2 separate regions of the Homo sapiens genome follow, and region 1 is linked to region 2. Evidence: promoter capture Hi-C in 16 types of primary human blood cells and fetal thymus (Javierre and others, 2016). All regions are on one chromosome and are shown on one strand. Each heading gives the region's core, a stretch centred on a gene start or on the middle of the fragment in contact. The rest is flanking DNA. Distances are from core to core; before and after follow the strand shown.

The links. The method cuts DNA at HindIII sites, captures the fragments that hold promoters and counts their contacts. A CHiCAGO score of 5 or more calls a contact.
Region 1: a fragment that was not itself captured here is called in contact with the fragment with the promoter of UXS1 in region 2 in 1 of 17 cell types (M2 macrophages); the score reaches 5.7 in M2 macrophages.

Annotation. Positions count from the first base shown.
Region 1 is chr2:108,634,385-108,639,984 of GRCh38, forward strand. The region is part of intron 1 of LIMS1 (LIM zinc finger domain containing 1); the gene reads left to right. Among named protein-coding and RNA genes, the nearest start is that of LIMS1-AS1, 41 kb to the right of the region's middle. RefSeq lists an enhancer at 1,897-2,471. The HindIII fragment of the contact is 2,606 bases long and covers 399-3,004 here.
Region 2 is chr2:106,191,176-106,197,196 of GRCh38, forward strand. UXS1 (UDP-glucuronate decarboxylase 1) reads right to left here and starts at 3,126. Exons shown (of 15, transcript NM_001253875.2): 1 at 2,973-3,126. The coding sequence starts at 3,066. RefSeq lists an enhancer at 2,219-2,268 and a silencer at 2,599-3,208. The HindIII fragment of the contact is 11,333 bases long and covers 1-4,014 here.

The DNA.
Region 1 (5,600 bases), core at 452-2,951, 2.4 Mb after region 2:
CATCTCCTAAAAGCTCATTTTGTAACAGAAATTGTCCAGACTGTTACTGCATTACATTTTAGGTTTTTCTCAATCCCCTCAGAAAACAAAGAAGCTCATACAGAACATTGCCCCTACCACTAGCAAGAGGCAAATCTTTCAGCCCTCCCAAGGCTGGCTTTCAGGCTCCTGAAGCTGTGCCTTCTGAATGTGACACCTTGTCCTGGCGACATCTCTGGAGAGACGCCACACACATCAGTGTTAAGTGGTACACATGGTCCTTTTCACCACAAATGTCCTGAAATCGAGGGACTATTTAGAAAACAGGCGGCTGCTTCATTCTATTGTGGGAGTGATGTGACAGGAAGGGAGGCTCAGGAATGACCATGACAGGAAAGCATGTGGAGCACTCACAGTAAAGCTTCACAGAAGCCCTCACGGCCAGGCGCAGCAGAGCACAGCGACTGCCCAAGGAGCTGCTGTCCTAGCCACCCTCCCAGTCATCTTCAAGAAGAACAAAAGTTCACTGATCGCCTCAGTTCCTTTATTCTCCTCTTGTTCTTGAGGACTGACCAATGGGTGTGTGTCCCTGTTTGCCTCTTTGCTGGGGTCACAGAGGAACCCAGGAGCTCACATTGAGTGGCCCCCAGACATGTCACTGGGGCCAGAAAGTGCCATGAGGATGGGGGTCTACACTGGGGTGTGGGGTGGCCATATCTTCTGGCCCTGACTTGAACAATGAGTCCATGTGTGGCCTCTAGTTTACATAAATAAAGAATGGCTGTGGCTGGGCGCGGTGACTCACGCCTGTAACCCCAGCACTTTGGGAGGCCCAGGCGGGTGGATCACCTGAGGTCAGGAGTTCGAGACCAGCCTAGCCAACATGGTGAAACCCCATCTCTAAAAATACAAAAATTAGCTGGGTGTGGTGGCAGGTGCCTGTAATCCCAGCTACTCAGGGGGCCAAAGCAGGAGAATCGCTTGAACTCGGAAGGCAGAAGTGGCAGTGAGCTGAGATTGCACCATCACACTCCAGCCTGGGGGGAAAGAGCAAGACTTCATCTCTAAAAAAAAAAAAAAAAAAAAAGAATGGTTGTAATCCCAGCACTTCAGGAGGCCAAGGCGGGTGGAATTCAAGACCAGCCTGGTCAAGATGGTGAAACCCCGTCTCTACTAAAAATACAAAAATTAGTCAGGCGTGGTGGTGGGTGCCTGTAATCCCAGCTACTTGGGAGGCTGAGGCAGAGAATTGCTTGAACCCAGGAGGGGGAGGTTTCGGTGAACTGAGACCGCACCACTACACTCCAGCCTGGGTGACAGAGCAAGACTCCATCTCAAAAAAAAGAATGAGGTAGACAGACTTGGACTCCCGTTTAACTGACAGGTTTATTATTCTGTACCTTTACGTGATAACACACTCCTCCCCCCCGTCTGTTCCTAGTTTTGAATGTAAATACAGTTGTTTAAATCGTCTGTTCCTAGTTTTGAATGTAAATACAATTGTTTAAATTCCTAAGTGACATCTTGGAGAAAGAGCCCAAAAGGTCTAAGTACCATCAGCTGCAGAGTCCTCACATAGGCTGCCTCTGTCGGCCTGGGTCCAACCAGGAGAGAAAACCCACACGCTAATTTGAACAGGAAAGGTTTAATATAAAGATAGAATTACTAACTCTAACAAGGTTTTGGAGTAATAAGGAATTGGCTAGTAAGAGGAGAGAAAGCAAAAGAGTATAGGAATAGCCGCTGTAAGGAGCAGCCACGGACCCTAGAGCTGAGTTAGAGTGCCAAGGGAGGAGCCCTACTCCGTGCCCGGGGTCACACTACCAGGGCATGCTGCATGCAGAAAAGTCGCTGGCACAGATTGCTGGAAATCCTCCTTTCCAATACCAGAGAAGGCTGTTCCCAGTGAGTTCCCTCACCCAAGGTACCCCCTACATAGCTGACTGCCAAGGGATGGGTGCTGCTGGCTGCATGCACCATCAGGGTCCAAGGCACTCTGCTGTAAAACTTTTGAGGGGCCAGTGCCACTGAAGCTGGTGCTAGCCACCATGCCCTGCAGGAGCTAGACACCGAAGAAGCCAGAGTGCTGCAGGAGCTTTGCCCAGGGAGCAGGCAGGACTGGGAAGCAAACCTCTTCCTCCTGCAGTGTCTCTCCAGCACCCTCTACTGACAAGGTCTCAGTGCTGCTCATAGAGGACAAAGATTCACAGAGGTAGCAGTAACTGCATCACCAGCACCTAGCAATATCCCAGTGATGCCTCCTACAGGACACAAGGGGGTCTGTCTAAGTGGGTAATTGCCATATTTTTATATATTATTGCTAGATGTATAGAATACCACTTTTTGAGAAGAGGTAAGGAATGGAATAAAGAGCTTCCTACTTAGCCCTGTGAACTGCTTTCAAAAACCATAGCTTCATTCCGTGACAGAGAATGGAGAGCTCTGTGTGGGGAGAGAGGAAGGTTGAGCACAGGAGCCTGCAGAACAAGAGGAGTGACTGAGGCCCCTGGGAGATGCTGCTAGCCTGGTTGTAGCTGGGCAGTGTTACATGAGCACCAGCTTACAGTGGTTGACCTCCTGACCTTATACTATTTCCACATCTTTTTTCATTGTACTTATGGCAAAATCTAAGTTATGGTAGCTGAAATAATCCCTTGCCTTTCTGTGTACATTTCACAAAATTTAAAGTTAATGAAAGAAAAGAAACCTTTTTAAATTCAGCAAAATATACATATATGTGTGTGTGTGTGTGTGTGTGTGTGTGTGTGTGTGTGTGTGTGTGTATTTTAGTTCCTCTGCTTCATCCTGGTCAGTATTTTCAAATGCTGTTTAATGCAGTAAAATCTACACAAAACATGTTCTGTGTCAAAAAGAAAATAACGGGCAGTGAAAGATATGTACATTTGAATTTGAAAAGGTTCATTGTTTTCACTTGACTCAAGTGAAATGTTTTTTATTCTGTTCTATTCTGAAATTCTCATGGTTTTCTTTTACCTTATCATTGAGGGAAGTAAACCCCGTGTTAAGCTTAGTCACAAAATAAAAACTCCCACGGACTTCCCTCCCAGTGTAGCTGAAGGTTAATGTCCAGGGAGATAGCCTTGACTGAGTCAGAACTAAAATAAGGGTGTTATTTAGAGCCAGATACTCTGGTGCTACAGCCACTACAGCCGTGTCAAGAGCTCCTGACACACTGGAGGCTGTCACTGGTGATCTGGGCGTTCTCCTAAGTCAGCATTCCTAGCTAAAAATACTGCCATTCTGTATTGGAAACACAGCTTCCTCTAATTTGTCTGTTTTGACCAGAACACAATGTTATCTTTTTAAAAAGCTGTTTAGGTGTGAGAATGTATGTTAATGGATCACAATACGAATAAAAATAAAAGAATGAAAAGATAAGTGATTTGAAATATAAAGGAACTAGTACAGAGACATTTTCTAGTTAAAGTTTCTAAATGGTCAGAGAAAAATCACCTAACCTATGAGAGAAAATTTTAAGATTTTTTTTTTTTTTTTGAGACAGTATCTCGCTGTGTCTCCCAGGCCGGAATGCAGTGGCATGATCACAGCTCAGTCATAGCTCACAGGCTCAAGCGATCCTCCTACCTCAGCCTCCTTAGTAGCGCCTACAGGTGCATGCCACCGTGCCCGGCTAATTTTTCTATAGAGATGGTGTGTCACCACGTTGCCCAGGCTGGTCTCCAGCTCCTGAGCTCAAGTGATCCTCCTGCCTCAGCCTCCCAAAGTGCTGGGATTACAGGCATGAGGCACCATGCCCAGCCCAAGAATGTTTTTAAATTGACTAAACACTGCTTATTTGAGGGACCATGGGAGAAAAAAAAATTGTGAGGTGGCTTATAGATTTCAAACTATAGTGATTCTGATTGATCGAGCTGTCTTTCTTGAGGAAAGTTACGCCAAAGGCAACGAGCTAGACTGAGCTGTCTGGGTGTCTGGGTAGGGACGCAGCTCACCAGGGCTTGCCCTCTTTAGATGCCCTCTGCAGGCAGTCTAGGGACTTCTCTCAAGATGTCCAGTTTGATTAATTGCATGATGACAGTGTGCTTGGTGCCATGAGGGGTATAAAGATTCAACAGAGGCTGGGCGTGGTGGTTCACGCCTGTAACCCCAGCACTTTGGGAGGCCAGGGCGAGCGGATCACCTGAGGTCAGGAGTTCGAGACCAGCCTGTCCAACATGGTGAAACCCCGTCTCTACCACTAAAAATACAAAAATTAGCCTGGTGTGGTAGCACATGCCTGTAATTCCAGCTACTCAGGAGGCTGAGGCACGAGAATCACTTGAACCCAGGAGATCGAGGTTGCGGTGAGTCAAAATTGCACCACTGCACTCCAGCCTGGCAACAGAGTGAGACTCTGTCTCAAGAAAACTAAGCACAGGCTGGGCACGGTGGCTCACGCCTGTAATCCCAGCACTTGGAGAGGCCGAGGCGGGTGGATCATGAAGTCAGGAGATCAACACCATCCTGGCTAAGATGGTGAAACCCCGTCTCTACTAAAAACACAAAAAATTAGCCGGGCGTGTTGATAGGCACCTGTAGTCCCAGCTACTCGGGAGGCTGAGGCAGGAGAATGGTGTGAACCCGGGAGGCGGAGCCTGCAGTGAGCATGGATCGCGCTACTGCACTCCAGCGTGGGTGACAGAGTGAGACTCCGTCTCAAAAAAAAAAAAATGTCTACTTAAGGGCCTCCTGGTGTTCTTAAGGAGATGAGGAGCACCTTTGCGATACAGAACACAACATTATATCCAATGAAAATCTTACCCACTCACTGCATGGGACACACAGTGGGTGCTATGGCTGCTGAACAGAAGATCGATAAGGCCTGGAATGTCAAGAAAGCTTCCTGGAGAAGATCTTGAGCAGGTACTTGAGGACTGGGCAGGTTTCTGATAAGCAGAAAGTTCAGGAGAAAAAAAAGGGACAGTGGTATTCATCCAGAAAATCGTATGTCCTTTGTATGTTTCACCCAGTGCTGGAAATGTTGATCATCACTTTTAAAGATAATTCTAAAGTCACCTTGCAACAACCCTGCATTTATTTAAGATCATATATCATATATGTGTACATGTTTTTGTTTTGTTTTTTTGAGACTAAGTCTCGCTCTATCGCCCAGGCTGGAGCGCAGTTGCGCCATCTCAGCTCATTGCAACCTCCACCTCCCGGGTTCAAGTGATTCTCCTGCTTCAGCCTCCTGAGTAGCTGGGATTACAGGCACCTGCCACCACACCCGGCTAATTTTTGTATTTTTAGTAGAGACAGGGTTTCACCATGTTGGTCAGGCTGATCTTGAACTCCTAACCTCATGATTCACCCACTTTGGCCTCCCAAAGTGCTGGGATTACAGACGTGAGTCACCGTGCCCAGCCGTGTACATGTATTTTAAAAAGAATAGAGCTCAAAATGTTAAAGTACTTGTTTCCAGTTGGCAGGAATATGCGTGATTCTTCTCTGCCTTTCATACATTTTCTGCAATAAGCTATATTGCTGTTGGGCTGATAAAAGTTGACAAATTCAACTTACCAAACCAAAACAGTACAGTTCAGTGATCCCATCCCAAAGCACTTACACATCCATGCGCACGGGCTCACAGAAACTGAGGC
Region 2 (6,021 bases), core at 1,876-4,375:
AGACTTTGGGAAAGATGTAAGGAGGAGAAGGAGAAAGGCTAACAGAACTTGAGTTCTGTTCCCGAAACAGGGAGGGCATTTCTGCAACGGAGGCTGGCTAACAGTGAGGGTGTATATAATTGGGAAGTATGGACAGTTTTTTCAAACAGTGGTGAGATTTTACTTGTAACAGGGAGGGCAAGATTACTAATTAGGAAAAGCAGAGATTAGAAAACACAGACATCACGGTTGAGGGACTACATTTTCAGTGTCCTTCGGTGTTATCAATCACAAGCCCTGTAACATTTTTCCCTGCAGAGTGGCTCAGACTTAGCATACCTGCTCCTTATTAACACTGCCTCCACCCTGTGTTAAACCCCTCATAGCTAAAATCAACCATGTCGTGGGCTGCACCCCAGGCCTGCCTGCCTGCTTGCCTGCTCTGGCCCCTGTCTGCCTGGGCAGCCTCATGGCTGTAATTTTGTTTTCACACTCCAACAATACCATCCTTCTTTGCATTCCTAGAATACTGCCTGCTCTTGGCTGCCGCAGGACCTCTGCACACACTGCTCCTCCTAGAACACGCTCTCTCCTATGACTTCCCTGTTAACTCCTACATAAGCCGTCCATTCTCAGCTCACTTTTGATTCCTCAACAAAACAAACGTACCTGATTGCTCTCACTCAGGAGTTCCTGGCATAGTTCTCATGCATTCCTTTTCCTCACACCAGTTTGTAATTTAACCTTCATTTCCAATTCATGCCCACCTCACCATCTTGGCCAGTGGGTCTCAAAGTGGTGTCAGGTCACAGCAACAGCATACAGAACAACCTATTAGTGATGCAGATTCTCAGGCCACATCCCAGACCAACTGAATCAGAAACTTGAGGTGGGAGACAAGCAGTCTGTGTTTTTTAAAAAAAACCCTACTGATTCTGATGCATGCTTAAGTCTGAGAATCAACGTGCTACACTATGTGGTATAGGGTCTGTACCATCACAGCACAGACCAGTTAAGTTTTAGCACCCCATGGTGTCTCCTAGTGCCAAATTCAGGGACAACAGTAAGGACTTGGTAAGATTTCCTGGTCAGATGAATGATTGGTTAAAAAACTTTCCTGCTGGGAGCGGTGGCTTACGCCTGTAATCCCAGCACTTTGGGAGGCCGAGGCAGGCGGATCACGAGGTCAGGAGATCGAGACCATCCTGGCTAACATGGTGAAACCCCGTCTCTACTAAAAATACAAAAAATTAGCCGGGCGTGGTGGCGGGTGCCTGTAGTCCCAGTTACTTGGGAGGCTGAGGCAGGAGAATGGCGTGAACCCGGGAGGTGGAGCGTGCAGTGAGCCGAGATCGCGCCCCTGCACTCCAGCCTGGGCTGAACAGAGCGAGACTCCGTCTCAAAAAAAAAAAAAAAACTTCCCATGGCTCCATAAATCCCCTACTTTATTAATTCTAAACCCTTGCAGCGACTATAGAATACCCCCAAAATAAACATTGAAACTGCTGTTCGAAGACCTGGGTTCTAGCTCCTGCTCCCAGGCCTTTCTGGGTTCAAATTTTGGCCCTCCTTCTCTTACTATCTGTGTGATCATCCATAAATTTCCTAATCTCTCTTGGCCTTAACTTCCTCACCTCTAAAATAGGAATCATTATAGTACCGATTTCCCAGGGTTGCTCAATGATTGAGACAATGGCACTAAGAATCATGACTCACACAGTTAAGCACTCAACAAATGTAGGTAGTATTACTGCCATAATAATAGTTATTCAACTTTAAATGGTCTTTCCTCTTGGGTCTCAGCTTTCTTACTCAAGATTGACCACACACACACTTTAGACTAGTTCTTCCTCCCTTGCAAAACTACACACATCTAACACCCATCCGACGCCTGAAACCTCCCCTAGCAACCCGGAGTCCTGCTGGGGTTTTCCAGCTCCACCTCCTGAACAGCTGGGCTGTAGCACACAGGCTGGATCTACTCATACTTGCCTTCCTAGAGCTCAACTGAAGTCACTTCAGACAAGTGAAGTACCCACTCACCTCTGGAATCAGATCTTGGTAACGCCAACAGGTTAGCAGGTGATTTCATTTCAGTGTGTGTCTGGGTGGCTAGCATTCAAACGCAGCTCACACTGGGAGCTATTTCTAGTCCAATTTTGCTACTTGGTAACGTATTAATAGCATCAATTAAAACATTCCCAACGAATAGATCTTTAAAAGGACGGTTTCTGACTTCCCTAACAAGCAGAGGGCCGACCACCTGCCTGCGAAGTGCCCCTCCTGCCCTGTCTCCAGGCAGCATGCTGTGAGCGATGACAGAAACTGGACCCGCGCACAGAGAAGCTGCAGGCACGCCCTGCCCGGCCACCCAGCTGCCTGCCTGCTTCGCCCGGCCGCCGAGCCCCGGGGGAAAACCTAGAATGGGGATGCCGGTGCGCCCCGACACCTGGGCACGGCCGCGGGCCGGGGAGCCGCCCACACTTGGCTCCCCAAGAGTTAAACGCTGAGTAATTTTCCTGAGGAGCAAACAGTCGGAGCGGGGGCTCTGCCAATGGCCACAGTATTTTTATCCGACTTAACCGACACCGCGGCGCGACCTCGGCTGTCCCCAAGGGTATCCCCACGCGGCACGCTCCGGAGTCCCCGACCGGGACCCTCGCCGGCTCCCAGCGCGACATGGACGACAGCGCCGCCGCCGAGTCCCCCGCGCCCGGGCAGGAGGCAGAGACCTGGGGCCGCCCGAGGACTGCTAGGGGCCCCTCCGCCCGGGGTCCGCGCCCGGGCCTAAGCGGTAGGGGGTGTGCGCCCAAGTTGGCCCGCTTTGCTGCAAGAGTGGAAAGGGGTGGGAGCAGAAAGCGCCGGCCCCGCCCGGGGCGGGGAGCAACGCGGGGCTGCAGGGCCGCCTCGGGGCCCCGAACCACCGCCGCCCGGCCCACCGCGGCGCCGGGGAATGAATGGGGCTCCCCAGCTGGCAGCGGGCGCGCACTCACAGGCGACGTAGGCCAGCAAGGCGATGCCCAGCAGCAGCTTCATCCTCCTGCGGTTGACGGCAGACACGAGGCGCAGCAGCGCCTTGCTCACCATCCCCGGGAGCCGCGCGGGTCCAGGGCCCTACCGCGCGGGGGCCCGCCTGCTGCACAATGCGCGGCGGCGGCGGCGGCAGCGGCCCCGAGAGCCCCGCCTCCTGCCGCCGCGCGCCCCCGCCCCCGCGCGCCTGCTTCCTGCTGGCGGGATCACCGCGCAGGCGCGCCTCCACCCCCTTCCTCCGGCTCCGCCCCCGCCCCTCCGGCTTCTCTACCCGCAGGCGCAGTTGCCGCCTTTCTTGCCTTGGTTTTCGAAGAATGTGACCTGGAGGGCTGGTGGGCGGTGCGGCGCGCCGCGGCGCATGCGCGTTCCGGTCTGTTTTCCCTGAGTTAAAGCGCGCGGGTGCCAGCCGGGAGGTGCGGCTGGATTCGTTTCGCTGAGGTGCGTCCCCAACCCAAGGGCACGACTGCAGTGGCCAGTTTCCGAGCCCCGCCCGGAGGGGGGCACGCGGTGGGCATTCCGGTGTTGCAGTGAAACGAAACTTATTTGCTAAACTTGGCCGAGCCTTAGAAGTTGAATGCCTGCCTCAGAAAGTTGCCTCGTTCTCTGGGCTGTTTAGTTGGCTTTTTTTAGTTAGAATATCGGCAGCGAAAATGATAAATCCCCTAAACCTTGCCGAAGTAAAAACTGGCTGCGTTTTTTTTCCTTGGCTATGATCAACTGGGGTGCCTTTGTTTTAATAATAGTCTTTTATTATTATTTTAAAAAGCAGTGCTAAGTATATTAATTTAGGATAGACTTGGAAAAGAAAAGATGAAATTGCGCTGTCTCTGCCTAGAGAAAAACCCTGACCATGTTGTCGTGTGTGTTTCATTCAATCTTTTTGTTGAGTATATCTGTTTTATGAGTGCTGTACTGATTGCATAGGAGGTACCTGTGTTTAAAAAGCATTTACTGAATGATGATTACAAGCAAGGAGATGTATCAGAAGATCCACAGATAATCGGAAGCTTGTCATTGGATCTGGAGAGAGCTGGTCCCATGGAGGAAAAAAAGACAGGTACACACAGATGTGTGTGATGCCACATTAAGAGAGATCCCGGATTTGGGATCTGCAGGCTTCAAGAGGTCATCTTCAGCTATACGGAGAAGTTGAAGTCAGCAGCGGCTCTCCTACCTCTTGGAACCTCAGGCCATTTTGCAAAACTTAATAGATCACCCTCCTTTAGATTTATTAGAAACCTCCAAGAAAAGGAAATATGGCAGCTGGTACTAAAGCAGCAGCTTTATGTTACATCTTTCAAACTATAGTGCAAATGATGTGATTCTGATAAAACCTACCTCCATCCTACCCCTCCCCTAAACCTGTTGAGAATCCCTGACTAGGAGGAAACACTGAGCGGTTTGCTAAGGCGGATTGCCCCTGCTATGCATGCTGCCCATAGATGGAGTGGACTTCTTTCGAGAAGCCCAGCTCCCTGACTCTGACGTGTCCAAGGAGGCTGCCAAGTGACAAAACACCTGGCATGGGAGCCTGAGTCCTGGGTTCCCAGAGGGGCCAGGCCCCCAGAGCACACCAGTTTGGAACAAATCGATTTTGTTTGTAAGTCTGCATTTCCTCGTGGCTTTCTGGCTATGGTTTTTGAAAAGAGAACTAGAGCAAGTGGAGCTCTAGGCCTTTCCCATTCCATGACTCCGTGGTTTTTAGATTAAAGATGAGGAGCAGAAATGGAAGAAAATAATAGTTCATTAACATTTGACCTATGGGCAAAATCAGACTGAAGCTTCTAGGCGGATTTCAAGCATTTTAGGTTTTAGGTAGGGTTTAGTTGATAGGTATCCTATTAGACGACAAAGGTCAGAAATTGTGGGGTATTTGCCATTTCTGTACTAAACTCCTTAAGCCCAGCATTCCCAGTTAGCATTTTTTTCTGCTGCTGGACACTACTGCCAACTTCTGCCCTGTGGGATTAAGTATATGGAAATACCGTTAGCAGCTGCAGTTGAAATAGCTGCTGCTGTCATTATTGCCACCCAGAAGGCGGTTGGTGTCCCAGGACACTGGTGTCTTGCTCAGCCGCAGCCAGAATTAAAAAGTAAGCAATAGTAAGTGTGCACCCAGTGGAGGTAAGAAGGCCTGAGGGAGGGAGATGCCAAAGAGACCCTCCAAGCTCCTCCGGGGATCTTGGGCGTAGGCAGCACCATTTCCCTGTGCTCCTTGCCTCTCTTGTTTCTTCCCAGACCCCCTTGTTTCTTCCCAGCCCATCCCCACTTCCCCCGCAGGTTCTGGGCTCATCCCTCCCTGCTCCCTCCCCTTACTGTCAACCCCCTCATATTTCCAGTGGATAGGTTAACAACAATATTTTTGAGCGATTACATATTTTTGAACAAGTTACAAAGGTAGTGTTTTTGACACTCAGGGTAATTAAAAAATGAATTGTAATATGACTTCTAAAGTGTTTAAAGCCTAAGGAGTGGAGAAAATTAACATTTATAAACCTCTACAATGTGCCAGGGACTGTTATGCAATGCACTTTCATTGTTACCTCATTGATATGGTTTGGCTCTATGTCCCCACCCAAATTGTAATCCCCACATGTCAAGGGAAGGACCTGATGAGAGGTGATTGGATCATGGAGGTGGTTTTCCCTATGCTGTTCTCATGATGGTAAGGGAGTTCTCATGACAGCCAATGGCATTTTTTTTTTTGAGACGGGGTCTCACTCTGTTGCCCAGGCTGGAGTGCAATGGCACAATCTCAGCTTACTGCAACCTCTGCCTCCCGGGTTCAAGTGATCATCCTGCCTCAGCCTCCCAAGTAGCTGGGATTACAGGCGCCCGCCACCACGCCTGGCTAATTTTTGTATTTTTAGTAGAGATGGGGTTTCACCATGTTGGTCAGGCTGGTCTTGAACTCCTGACCTCAGGTAATCCACCCGCCTTGGCCTCCCAATGTGCTGGGATTACAGGTGTGAGCCACCACACCCGGCCGGTTTTAAAAGTGTTTGGAAGTTT